2 separate regions of the Homo sapiens genome follow, and region 1 is linked to region 2. The links are contacts of gene promoters, found by promoter capture Hi-C in human tissues and cell types (Jung and others, 2019). All regions are on one chromosome and are shown on one strand. Each heading gives the region's core, a stretch centred on a gene start or on the middle of the fragment in contact. The rest is flanking DNA. Distances are from core to core; before and after follow the strand shown. Region 1 has its middle 49 kb from the start of SOCS1. Region 2 holds the start of TNP2 (transition protein 2).

Evidence for each region. Contacts are between HindIII fragments. The study calls those that stand out against the background at their distance.
Region 1: a fragment that was not itself captured here is called in contact with the fragment with the promoter of TNP2 in region 2 in 2 of the 25 tissues and cell types used here (liver and thymus).

Annotation. Positions count from the first base shown.
Region 1 is chr16:11,203,563-11,209,883 of GRCh38, forward strand. No RefSeq gene overlaps it. Among named protein-coding and RNA genes, the nearest start is that of SOCS1, 49 kb to the right of the region's middle. RefSeq lists enhancers at 2,617-2,756, 3,077-3,166, 3,177-3,246, 5,430-5,499. The HindIII fragment of the contact is 3,672 bases long and covers 1-3,399 here.
Region 2 is chr16:11,266,979-11,273,397 of GRCh38, forward strand. TNP2 (transition protein 2) reads right to left here and starts at 2,347. Exons shown (of 2, transcript NM_005425.5): 1 at 1,885-2,347; 2 at 879-1,034. The coding sequence starts at 2,284. The coding sequence ends at 1,018. All of the region lies in intron 1 of LOC105371082 (a long non-coding RNA gene), which reads left to right. PRM3 (protamine 3) reads right to left here. Exons shown (of 1, transcript NM_021247.3): 1 at 6,221-6,419. The coding sequence ends at 6,306. RefSeq lists an enhancer at 5,036-5,732. The HindIII fragment of the contact is 5,287 bases long and covers 1-4,784 here.

The DNA of each region.
Region 1 (6,321 bases), core at 314-2,813, 64 kb before region 2:
GCCAAGGCAGGAGGATCAGTTGAGCCCAGGAGTTCGAGGTCAGCCTGGGCAACATAGTGAGACCCCCATCTCTTTAAACACAAAAAAGTGGAGTCAGAAACCAAACCGAAGGACTCTGGACCCTTGTACTCTTGGCTGCACACATCTTACCCTCCTGAAGAAATGTTTGCTGAGATTACAGACTTGGTTAAATTCATGACAGTCCATCTATGCCATGGGGCCATTAAAATAGTGATTTGGAGGCCAGGCGAGGTGGCTCACACCTGTAATCCCAGCACTTTGGGAGGCTAAGGCAGGCAGATCATCTGAGGTCAGGATTTCAAGACCAGCATGGCCAACATGGTGAAACCCTGTCTCTGCTAAACACACAAAAATTAGGCGGGCATAGGCCGGGCGCGGTGGCTCACGCCTGTAATCCCAGAACTTTGGGATGCTGAGGTGGGCGGACCACAAGGTCAGGAGATTGAGACCATCCTGGCTAACACGGTGAAACCCCATCTCTACTAAAAATACAAAAAATTAGCCCAGCGTGGTGGCAGGCACCTGTGGTCCCAGCTACTGGGGAGGCTGAGGCAGGAGAATGGCGTGAACTCGGGAGGTAGAGCTTGCAGTGAGCTGAGACTGCACCACTGCACTCCAGCCTGGGCGACAGAGCAAGACCCCATCTCAAAAAAAAAAAAAAACAGGCGTGGTGGTACATGCCTGTAATCCCAGCTACTGAGGAGGCTGAGGCAGGAGGATCGCTTGAACCCGGGAGACAGAGGTTGCAGTGAGCCACCACTGCACTCCAGCCTGGGCGACAGAATGAGACTCCATCTCAAAATAAAATAAATAAAATAAAATGGTGATTTGGAGTATTGCTTCCCTGGGAAAATGCTCATGGTATGTGTATCCTTAGAGGAAAAAGCAAGTTGTAAGAGTTTGGAAACCATAACCCCATTTTGTTCATTCAAAAATTATTTGCATAGAAAAATGACCAGAAAACAGTTACAAATTACAATGTTGGCAACGATGATGCTGAGGAGGAAGAGCAGGGGCCCATGGAGAAGGACAGGGTCCATACCACCAGGTATGTGCCACCACTTTTTCCTGTGATGCCAGGAAAGGGGGCATCCCCATTGCTAGGGGTCTGAAGACCTGGAGTGAGAGAGAGAATGGCTGTGCCCATGACTGGAGGCTCAGGGCTCTGAGAGGTGGAGTCAGGGGTCTGTGGGGGAGGCAGTGGGTGATCCCTCAACCACGTGGCTTGTCCTTCCCACGCCTGCAGAGAAACATTGGTCACCCTGCCTTTGCCCCAGCTGGCTGCTTTCCTGGGATGTGACCTTTCACGTTGGTGGCCAAACCTGTCCATCCTTGACACTAGCTCAGACATCCCCTCCTCCAGGAAGCCTCCTCAGATGTCACTGGCCAGGCATTTGCCTTCCTTAGTCTTCTGGATCCCTAGTCTAGGACTGAGTGCTTCCTGCCTCCTCACTGCCTCTGACTTCTCTGGGGGGTTGATTTAACACGGCCACGGGGGCTTATTTCCATAACCCCAGCCTCTGCCACAGGAGCCGCTATAGGGTTGAGCTTTACATCCTCTCAGTGGGCTCGTGACCCCGTCATCCACACCTTCCCTTTTATCGGGTCCCTTTCATGTGGTGTCTCATCGACTCCTTACCATAGCCCTAACGGATGGACATCGCTATTCATTCCCATTCTACAGATGCAGAAACTGAGCTTCAGGGAAGCTGAGGAGCTCACCCTGGGTCATACGGCCAGCAAGTGGCACAGTCAAGATCCGAACCCAGGTCAGGCTGTGTCCACAGGGTATCTTGGACAGGGCTAAACTTCCACCACATTGTCTCTTCATATAATGTTGAAATCTGGCTTCTCTTTCAATAGCTGCCCCAACGCGGCCGGAGCACTGGGACTAAGGCAGACGTGAGCGCTAGTATCGCAGTCACCAGCACTGCTACAGCGCCTTCCCTTTTAGTGCCTCCTGTCAACGCTGAGAGGTAGTCACAAGTATCCCCATGGCAGATGTGGGAGGACTGAGGCCCATGAGGTCCAGGGCTCCAGGGGCACCTGGCTCTGATGAGGCTAAACTCAAGCTTGCCCCTTCTCTGCACCCCAAACTCCTGGTTTCTGGACCCAGCTCAGCACGTGGAGCCTTGGGTCACACCCAGCACCCAGTGAACGGCATCCGAGAAACACTCTTCCTGCTGAAAGCCTGGCTTTCTGGAAGGGAGCTGGGGGAAACTGGGAGAGGATGGAGGGGGGCCAGGTAGCAGATAGCCACACTCCTTGCGGCAGGAAGTTCTACACATCATTTCTGGGAACCAGGATAGCTTGGCAGTAACTCGGCGCACTTTGACCCCAATAGAGCACCCAGCTGTCACTGTTGACAGCCCCCCTTCCTTCCCAGGGGATGCTGCTGAGCTGCTTGGAGCCTTCATGTCGGACATCCAGGTGGGCCTGGGGACAGCCTTGGAGCTCCCGGGCCACCTGTCTGGCCACCACCGGATGGAGTGCCCAGATGGGGCTTCTGCCAGCTGTCCAGGAGGCAGCCCAGGCTGGGACATCCAAGCTGAGCCCTGAGCTGGCCTGGCCTGGCCCAGCCCGCACTGATGAGGCAATGTGAGTCCTGTTTCCTGTTACTGTGGCTATGCAAATGGGGGGAAATCAGGGCCTCTCCTGGGGTAGGCTTCCCGGAATGATGGCATTGATTGTCCCAAGAAACCTGGCCCCAGTGGGGCTGCTATGGGAGGGCAGTTGTCAACGGCTAAGATCCCTTTCCTGGTGCATCTCTCCTGCGTGCTGGGCTACATACTGCTGGGAAAAGCTTCTTCAGCCCAGACCTAGGTCATCACTGCATGTCCACTCCCGGACCCACTGCCCATGAGAGCTGGGCTGTGGCTTCCACTTCTTGTCACTGCATCCCCAGCTCCTGGTACATCGTGGGAGTGGGGCGGACAGGACCAGGAAGTGGGTGGCCTCAATGGCTCTCAGCCCCTGGCCTGGAGATCACCACACCCTTCTCTTTACACATAAGGAAACTGAGGACACCAGACTGGGCCAGGGACTTGCCCACGTCTCTCTGCCTCGCCCAGACATGCCGCAGCAGCAGTGGCAAACTTCTGCTTGCCCCCAGAAGCCAGCTGAGTCTTCCAGGTCAAGTCCCTCTCCTGCTCCCCACAGTCCTGTCACACCCCTGGCTGCTCCCCAGGTCAGCCTCTCCTAGGGGTCGTTCTCAGCTCACATCTGACCATGCCACTCCCCTGCCCTGGCACCTAGCCCTCACTCAAAGCCAGGCCTCATAAGCCAGCAGTGATTGGGTACCTTCCACCCTGAGTGGTCTCATCTCTTGACAACTCTGCCTCACACATTACCCCTGGTGATGCCAGAACTCCTTGGAATTCCCCCTTGCACCTCTGTGGCTTTGCAAAGCTGTTGCCTCAGCCTGAGAGGATGCCTCCAACACCTTTCTTTCTCTCTTTATTTTTTTTTTCTGAGACCGAGTCTCACTCTGTCACCCAGGCTGGAGTGCAGTGGCACGATCTCAGCTCACTGCAGCCTCTGCCTCCTGGGTTCAAGCAATTCTTGTGCCTCAGCGTCCCAAGTAGCTGGGATTACAGGCATGTACACCACGCTCAGCTAATTTTTGTATTTTTAGTAGAGATGGGGTCTCGCCATGTTGGCCAGGTTGGTCTCGAACTCCTGACCTTGTGATCCGCCCACCTTGGCCTCCCAGACTGCTAGGATTACAGTTGTGAGCCACTGCACAAGGCCTAACACCTTTGTTTCTATAATTCCTATTTTTTCTCCAACACTCAGCAGTGTCACCTCCAGGAAGCCTTCCCAGATGCCCGCAGCTGGACCAGGTGCCTCCTCTAGGCTCCCTGCATGTCCCCATCACAGCATGTATCACACTGGGCTGTCCTCATGATTTTAGTGCCTGTCTCCTCCACTGCATGGGAGACTCATCACGGAAGCTTGCACAGAGAAGGAGGCAGAGATGTGGAAATGCCCATGGGTGCAAGACACACGCAGGAAGTCGAACCTGTGGACTTGGGGTGCAGCAGAGGGCTGTGTCAAGGACTGAGTGACCAGATATTCGACTGTGCCTCTCCTGAGATGGGGAATGCTGAGGTTTGGGGAGGCACAGAGCCTTAGTCTATGAGCCCTAACTCTCTGAACTCCCACCCCAGAGTTAGGAAACTCCTCCCACATAGGACAATGGGCAAGTAGAGCCCGCCTTCCATGGGAGGAGCCCAAATAGTCCACACCCACTTTCCCTGCCTCCCTTGCAGCTAGGGCATGGCATGTGACTGGACTCTGCCAATCAGAGGCACCTGCTCTGGAGTTTGAATTGGAGGCTTGTCCTGTCCAGGACTCTTTCTGGGGGGAGCCTGGGCCACATGGAGTTCCTGGCAGCTGTGAAGAAGGAGGACTTCACCAGGCTGGCTCTGTGGTAGGAATAGGGGTGACGTCTTGCCTCCCCTTTTCCATGGGATCCTCCTGCCTTCCTGGGAGTTTTGCATACCCCAATATCTGTTTAATACCTTTTCTTCTGCTTGAATGAGCCACATTTGGATTCTGTCACTTGTCACTAAGAATCCTGGAGGCCCCTCTTGGGGGCAACCACTCGGACCAACCTTGAAGGAGGAGCCCATGTTGATGGGAAGGACAGCAAGTGCATTCGGGGTGTGGGAAACAGCTGACCAGGGTCAAGGTCAGGCTTCCGGGACACGACAGGGAGTGTTGGGGATGATGGCTCATCTGGGTCAGATTGTGGGGTTCGGTGGGGACCTGTTGGCAGGGGGTAGATCCAAGGCAGCTGATCCTGAATGCCAGGGCGAGAGCAAGCTTGGATGCCAGCCTGCGGGCAGTGGGACCCAGTGACATACTGTAAGTGGAGGTGGGACGTGGTCAGATTTGGGTTCCAGAAAGCTCAGTCTGCTGCTAGGAGGAAAAGCTAGACCAGATGGGGCAAGACTGGGAGAGTAGGGGACCAGGCAAAAGACTACGGCAATGGTCCCAGCAGACAGTCCTGGAGGCCAGAAAGAAGATCAAGGCAGTGGCAATGAGCAAGGGCAGACCTGGGATTCAGTGTGACTGGCCCTGGGGAGCCATTGAAGGCTTGGGTGACCTACCATGATCGTAAGAAAGTGGGGTTGAGCTGAGCATGGTGGCTGATGCCTGTAATCCTGGTACTTCGGGAGGCTGAGGTGGAAGGATCGCTTGAGCCCAGGAGTTTGAGACCAGCCTGGGCAACATAATGAGACCCTGTCTCTACAAAAGCTAAAATATTAGCTGGGTGTGGTGGTGTATACACCTGTAGTCCCAGCTACTCAGGAGGCTGAGGCAGGTGAATCCCGTGAGCCCAGGAGTTCGAGGCTGCAGTGAGCCAAGGCTGTGCTGCTGTGCTCTAGCCTGGGCAACAGAGTGAAAGCCTGTCTCTAAAAAAAAAAAAAAAAAAGAGGAAGTGAGGTTGGAATTTCATGACTGCCTGGACATGTCACTTGCCTCACACTTGGACAGCCCTGATTCGTTCTCAGGGTTTCCCCACCAGGGCCGACTTTGTGCCCTTGCCTCCCAGCTAAGCTGACCCAGACTTGCAGATGTGATTCAGAAATGGAAAACAGGGCTGGGCTGAGTGGCTCACGCCTGCAATCCCAACAATTTGGGAGGCCAAGGCAGGGAGATCTCCTGAGGTCAGGAGTTTGAGACCAGCCTGGCCAACATGGTGAAACCCCCATCTCTACTAAAAATACAATAATTAGCTTGGCATGGTGGCGGGTGCCTATAGTCCCAGCTACTCAGGCTGAGGCAAGAAGATTGCTTGAGCCCGGGAGGCATAGGTTGCAGTGAGCCAAGATCACTGCTGCATTCCAGCCTGGGCAACAGAGCAAGACTCATCTCAAAAAAAAAAAAAAGGAATAGAAAGCAGGTCTGTCAACTCCATACCACTGCCAAGCACGCCCCTCGGGCCATGGGTTCCAAAGGAGAGGCACAGCCAGGGCCACCTCTGTCTAGACAGAAAGAAGGACTCAGATGGGACAGCTGGGGTCTGGAGGAAAAGTCAACAGGACTGGGAAAATGGGGAAAGGAGACACAGGGCACCCGGCCACCTCCTGCCAGCCCGGGAGTTCCCTGGGCAAGGAGCTTGGCCACAGGAAGCAGTGGATGGATGCTGCTTCAGGGGCTCACCCCTGCACCCCAAACAGCACCAGCCTCATCCCCCAGAGTCCCCTGAACCTCATCCCTCGGGCGCAGAAGAATATCCTGAAACCGTCCTGTGGGGTCATTTTAGGGATGAAAACTTGGGACACAGAGTTG
Region 2 (6,419 bases), core at 1,097-3,596:
GGAGATCAAGGCTACAGTGAGCCATGATTGCATCACTAAACGCCAGCCTGGGTGACAGAGTGAGATGGTCTCAGAGAAAAAAGCACACACCAGACTCTATCAACTCACCCAGTTGAGACCCTCCCCTGACTTCTCACACCAAGAATAATGTCCAAGCTCCTTCCTGCGGAGATTGGTACAACCCCGGCATGGTCTGGCCCCCACCTGGTGCCCCCAGCTCATGTCCCAGCACCTTCAGATTCTATGCCAGCTCCTCTGGAACACAGGTTCTAACCCAGGCTCATTCCCTCACGGGGACATGACATCACCCTGCTCCCTTGATACAGCTCATTCTGACAAGTCTTGTGTGTTTGGACTGTAAGTTCCATGAGGGCAGGGCCTTGTGTGTTCTCTAGTTCTGTTCCCAGAGCCCAGCACAGTCCCTGAACAGACTTTGGTCCCTTAGTAAAAGTTTGTTGAAATGGCTGCTTTGAGGAACGTTGAGGTTGGTACTATGTTACAGAATCAACAAGTGAGACTCAGAGGTTGGTCACAGTCCAGGGTCACACAGCGAGTACGAAAGATGAGCCAGGATTCAAACTCAGGATGCTCTGGATTGCAAAAGGCACATTCTGAACCCCTCTTCCTGTCTCCTGTCGTGTTCTTGGGCTACATACATGTGGATCACGTGAATAGGTTGTGGACATGTGTGCATCTTGTGTGTCCACATGTGTACACACCCATGTGGGAGCATACAGGGCAAAAGATTGTTATCCAAGCAGAGTGGACTCTGCAGGCTTCTTGGCATCCTACCCCCATTCATTTCTGCCCCTGTGCAGGCCCCCAAAACACATAACACCTTTATTAGTGAAATCAAAATGACTATGACTACTCAGGGATAGTCTTCCAGGTACAAGCTTTAATTAGTGTTGCGTAGAAATCACCATAGTAACATGTTCCTGCAAGAAGATTGACTTCATCCTAGCATTTTCTCCTTTGGGTGAAACACGCAGGAACAAGCCAAGGAGTGCGGTCTCATTAGTTGGATTTCCATCCTAAGGGATAAGAGTGGGAAAGGAACCTTTAATAGCTGAGCACTTCATGAAGTCAGTGACCTCCTTGACCTCCTGTAAGGTCTTACAACTACTCATTTGTGATTGAATATGGGACATAGATAGAGTTTAGACTACCGTCAGTGTCCTTTTGACCTATGTGAATCCAGGTATCCATCCATTTATCCCTTCCATTTGTCATCCACCCATTCATTAGTTCACTCATTCCATTCATTTATTCAACATTTCTTTCCCATTCTATCCCATTAGTCTAGATATCTATTCTTCTCTCTGTTTATTCAATTACTCTATATTACTCTATTAAGATAATATTTAACCAATCAAACCAACCCATCAAAACTTCTACAACTATTTAACTCTATTTCTAACCAATTCATCCACCAACCACAATCTTCAAACTGATCATCTACCTAACCAACCAAATAACTAGCCAGCCAGTGCATTCATCCATTTATCCATCCATCCAGCTAATCGTATCCAAACTTCCTATCATTCAGCCAATGCATTCTTCCAACTATCCTTTCTATAACCTATTTATTGTTTACCCACCCAGTCATCCACCCAACCTCTCAACTCCATTCATGCTTTCATCTAGCTTATCTGCTATCTGTCCATCTTTCCATCCTCCTAATCAACCCATCCAATTTCAAAGAGACTTTCCGTCAATGTATCATACATTCAGCTAGCCAACTGCCATTGTTTCTCTTCTCCCTCTTCCTTCTTGCCTGTGGTTCCTTTGTGACCTGGCTGCAGCCTTCCTCTCACTGCCCCCAAGGTCTGCTCTCCATCATCTGTGGGCTCGGTGGCCCTTCCCCACCTCCTTAAAGGGTACCTGAGCTCCGCGTCTTGGTTTTGTACACCTGCTGGATCCTCTTGGCCATTTTTTTCTTTTTCAGCTTGCCTTCCAAGTTCTTTCTGTTCTTGGGGCAGCGGCAGTGCAGGATGGTGGGCCGCATGGGAGAGTGGTGGGAGTTCATAGTCTTTTTGTGGCGCTTTGGTGGTGGACTAGTGTTGGGACTCTGGCTCTGGTGGCCGGATGAGCTGTGGGCTCCAGTTGGGTTGCGGTGGCTGGCCGGGCTCTGGCTGGAGCTCTGGCTCCGGCTGCCACGATGGCTCTGTCTGCAACTCTGGCTGAAGGTTTGGCAATGGCGGGTGCAGGTGCGGCTTTGGGGCTGAGAGTTGCTATGGAGCTGAGTGTGGGTGATAGGAAGGCTGTGAGTCTGGGTGTCCATAGGAGGCCACGTTTGGAGGGGCAGGGCCTCCTCCTCATCCTCTCCCAGCAGGCCTAGCTTTACAGAGGCCCTGGCAGCCCACCTGGTTATATAGTTGGGGCTGATTATGATGGCCCAGGCCACAGGGGTGTGAGAGATGTGGCTCAGCCAAGACAAAGCCCCCTACCCCTTACCCTCACCCCCAGGCTGGGGCAGCTCTCAGGGGTACCCTGGGGATAGTCCCAGCTACTGGTTCAGGGTAGGAGCCCTTGGGTCAGATTAAGCTGAGTCTGCATCCCAGATCTGCTTTTTCCACATGGTCAGCCCTGGGAATTCGCCTGAACAAGTCCCAGTTTCCCCATCTCTGCAGAATAGGGATAATAATTGTACTGACCTCATTCGGACATTAGAAGAATTATTAATAAAGGAGAGAATTTATATCAAGCAGTTAGCTCAGGCCCAGCCCACAATAAGAGCTCAGTAAACATCACTGACCAGCATCATCAGGTGTTTTTCTTAACGCCCTGGGCAACTTGGGTACCAGGAGTGCAGCCCTGACCCTGGTGATGGCAGCTGAATGGTGGGCAGTTGTTAAGACAGATGATTAGTGCCCAGATGATGGGGAGGTGATGAATTGGTCAGATGGCTTGGTGGATGGATGAAAGATGAGTAACCACATGGACCAAGGGGTGGTCCTGGGGCTCGCTTGGCAAGCCTACCTCCCCAGCCAGATCTAAAGTCGGGAAATTCAGAGCCGGGTTCAAATCCCAGTTTGCACTGATGTCCAGTCTTGGGTAGGCCATTGTGGTTTCTGAGGCTTAATTGCCGTATGTGACAAAGGGGTGTCTTTCCTTCTTTCCTGGTATTCTCGTGAGCCTGAGATGCCTGTCAAGCTACAGGAGGCCCTTGGAAACCCGTCTCTCTCCTTCAGTTTCTGCCTCTTGATTCTCCTCCCCTTCCTGCTAACGAAGCCTCGCCATACCGTTTGAATCACGCCGTCCCTGCTCAGATACCCCAGTACCTCTAGAAGAAAGCCCAGACTTATGTTTGAACACTAAGCCATTTGATCTTCTAGTCTTTGGGTTTCCATCCAGAGCCCTCCACCCCTCCCTGTCTTGGCCGATGCCTTTGGGCTTAGCCCTTGGCCCTGTACTTTCCCACTTCTCTCTGCATGGAACTTCCTCTGTCTCTGTCTGTCCTCCCCGAGCAGGCCTCCGGCCCAAGCCAACCTCTCACTCTGCCCATGTGCAACTTTGCCTCTTGCTATGAGGATTTGCAATCGTCTGCTTTTATGGAAGTTTTTTTCTTTTTCTTTTTCTTTTGAGAAAGGGTTTTGCTGTGTTGCCTAGGCTAGAGTGCAGTGGCACAATTACAGCTCACTGCAGCCTCCACCTCCTGGACTCAAACGATCCTCCCACCTCAGCCTCCCAAGTAGCTGTGACTACAGGTGCATGCCACCACACCTGTCTAATTTTTTTATTTTTATTTTTGTAGAGATGGGGTCTCACTTTGTTGCTTAGGTGGGTCTTGAACTCATGAGCTCAAGGTTTTCTCCTGCTTTGGCCTCCCAAAGTGCTGGCACTACAGGCATGAGCCAATATGCCCAGCCTTTGCAGTTTATTTCTTAATAAACATTTCAAATTTCTTACAGTGAGAACTGCTTTCATTTACTGAATGCTTTCTATGTGGCTGGGCTCTGGACCTTACCCTCTCCAGGCAGCTTTGCCCTCAAACCTCACAGTGACCCTTTGTAGTGGAATGAATGGCAACCCCCAAAAATCTATGTCCACGTTATAACTCCTAGAACTTGTCAATGTGATATTTGGAAAAGGGGTCTTTGCAGATGTAATTAAGCTAAGAATCTTGAGATAAGCATGTTGGCTTAGCTGGTGGGCCCTAAATCCAATGATAAATGTCTTTATGAGAGACAGAAGAGGTGTCACCCAGGGAGAAGAGGAAACCATGGGAAGATGGAGACGAGCTTGGAGTTGTATGAGCTAGAGGAGGCAAGGAAGGATTCTCTGCTAAGGCCTCCGGAGGGAGATCAGCCCAGCTGGCACCTCGACTTCAGACTTCTGGCCTCCAGAACTGCAGAGAATACATTTCTGTTGTTTTAGCCACCAAGTTTGTGGTCATTTGGTATGGCAGCCCCAAGAAACTTATGCACCCCATGAGGCAGATACTATGATTACATTTAGCAAAGAGGGAACAGGCTCAGAGAGGTGGAGTAACCAGCCCAGAGTCCCTTAGCCGATCACGGCAGAGCCAGTCATATTCAGGTCTGGCCTCCTCTCGAGGTCACTAAGGGATTCTCGGCGATTAGAGGGACAGCTGCAGCAGGGTTCTCAGGGCCCTGCCTTGGGTGGCCTCAGCAGGTCCGGTTGTGGGGTATATGCTAGACCAAGCCGTGAAGACTCTCTGGGTCTCTGGACCCCCCTTCCCATGGTCTCCTGCTCCTCCACTGCCAACGCCCCACTTTCCCATCCTGAAGCACATAGCCTGGAATGGAGATCGTGGCCTGCCATCAACCAGCCTCTCCTCCACACACCTTTCCAGTCCTCCCAGGGAGGGCTGACCTCTCCCAGCAGCGGGTGTGCGGCACGTCACGTACCTGCCCCCGCACCCATGACAGTGAACTCTCTCCCAGGACAGCGGGGACTATGTTTTATTACCAGGGCTCCTTGTGACTAGCACCATGTGGGGCATACAACAGGGACTCAGCTCATGTTTCCTGGGCAAATGAATGGGTGGGTGGACCTTTGGGCCTTGGACAAAAGGACAAGGCTGACCAACCGAGTCATTTGTGGGTCTGGGAGTAGTGGGATAACAGGGCCTCCCTTGCCCTAGGCCATTGCCGGGCAGAGCCGTGGCCTCCCCACAGGGTAGCCCAAGGCTCCTTCCTACGTCAAACATGGCCCCCAGAGAAACCGAGGCTTCCCTGAAAATTCCCCATCCCCCAGCCCCACTGCCACGGTACCAACTAGGATCCCCTCGGGAACAGGGGATCAGCTGATCCAGAGAATTAGCTCAAGGTGGCTGGTGCTTGGAGGACTGTGAGGGAATGTGGTGGAGATCGCATTTGTGGCTTCTTTGGGATGGAAGGAGTGAGGGAGGAGCCGGCAGTAGGGTGGGCAGCAGACGCACTCCGAAGCTCCTTGCGGAAGGCGCACCGAGCCCAGAGCGAGAGGATGGGGCCTAGGTTCTGTGTCTGTACCCAGTCGCCTCCCTGGGCCTCTTTTGCCTACTGCTCTCATGGGGTACTGTCTCCGCCCCCAGGGCTAGACCCCTTGAAGAAGGCGGGAGTGAGCTTCCAGGTAGGGGTGCAGGTGGTTGCCAGCAGCATAGACTGGCAGTGGAAGAGTCTGCAGCCAAGAAGGACCTAGAGGAACCACCATGACCCCAGCAACAATCCCTGTCCTAGCTCAGCACTGACTGGTGCCAGGCCTGGTCCCACCCATCACTTGAGCTAATTTTTCTGATCATCTGACCCATGAGTAGCTATTAGCTTCCCCTAAACGCTGGGAGGGGCAGCCTGAGGCTCAAAGACACGCAGTGACTTGCTCAAGGGCACGCAGCTACCAGAAAAGAAGTTTGAACCCAGGTCTGCTGAACTCCCAAGCCAGTGTTCTTAAAAGACGGTCCATAGTTGGGGCAGCACAGTGGGGACTGCGATGAAGGCAGTTACCCTGTCCCGCTGGATGCTCTCGGCTGGGGTGTGCTGGGACTCGCAGAGGAATTTCCCGTCCCAGAGATGGGAAGATTTGGCGGAGATGATTTCCCCCTCTCAAAGCCCCTCAACCTCTGGCTGGGGCTTGGGAACAAGGTCACCGAGCCTTGCTGTTCAGCCTTCCTTGGCAGCTGGCCTCCCTCCGTGTGCACCCACACACACACGCCTTCACACACGTGCACACGTGGGGCCAGAAGGGATAGGGTGAGGGGAACCAGAGACAGGGAGGATTCCTCAGAGACTTTTTATTGACTCTTCTCTGAACACTGTCGCCGGAGCAGCAGTGGGCGTCCCTTCCTGGGCCTTCGTTGCGGGTCAGGAGGGTGTCCGCTTGGGCTCGGGGCTCTGCTGGGCCTCGGCGTTGTCCTTGTGGCCCTCCTCCTGCCGCTCAGGCTCCAGCAGCAGCAGCTTGCCCTGCACCGGCAGCTC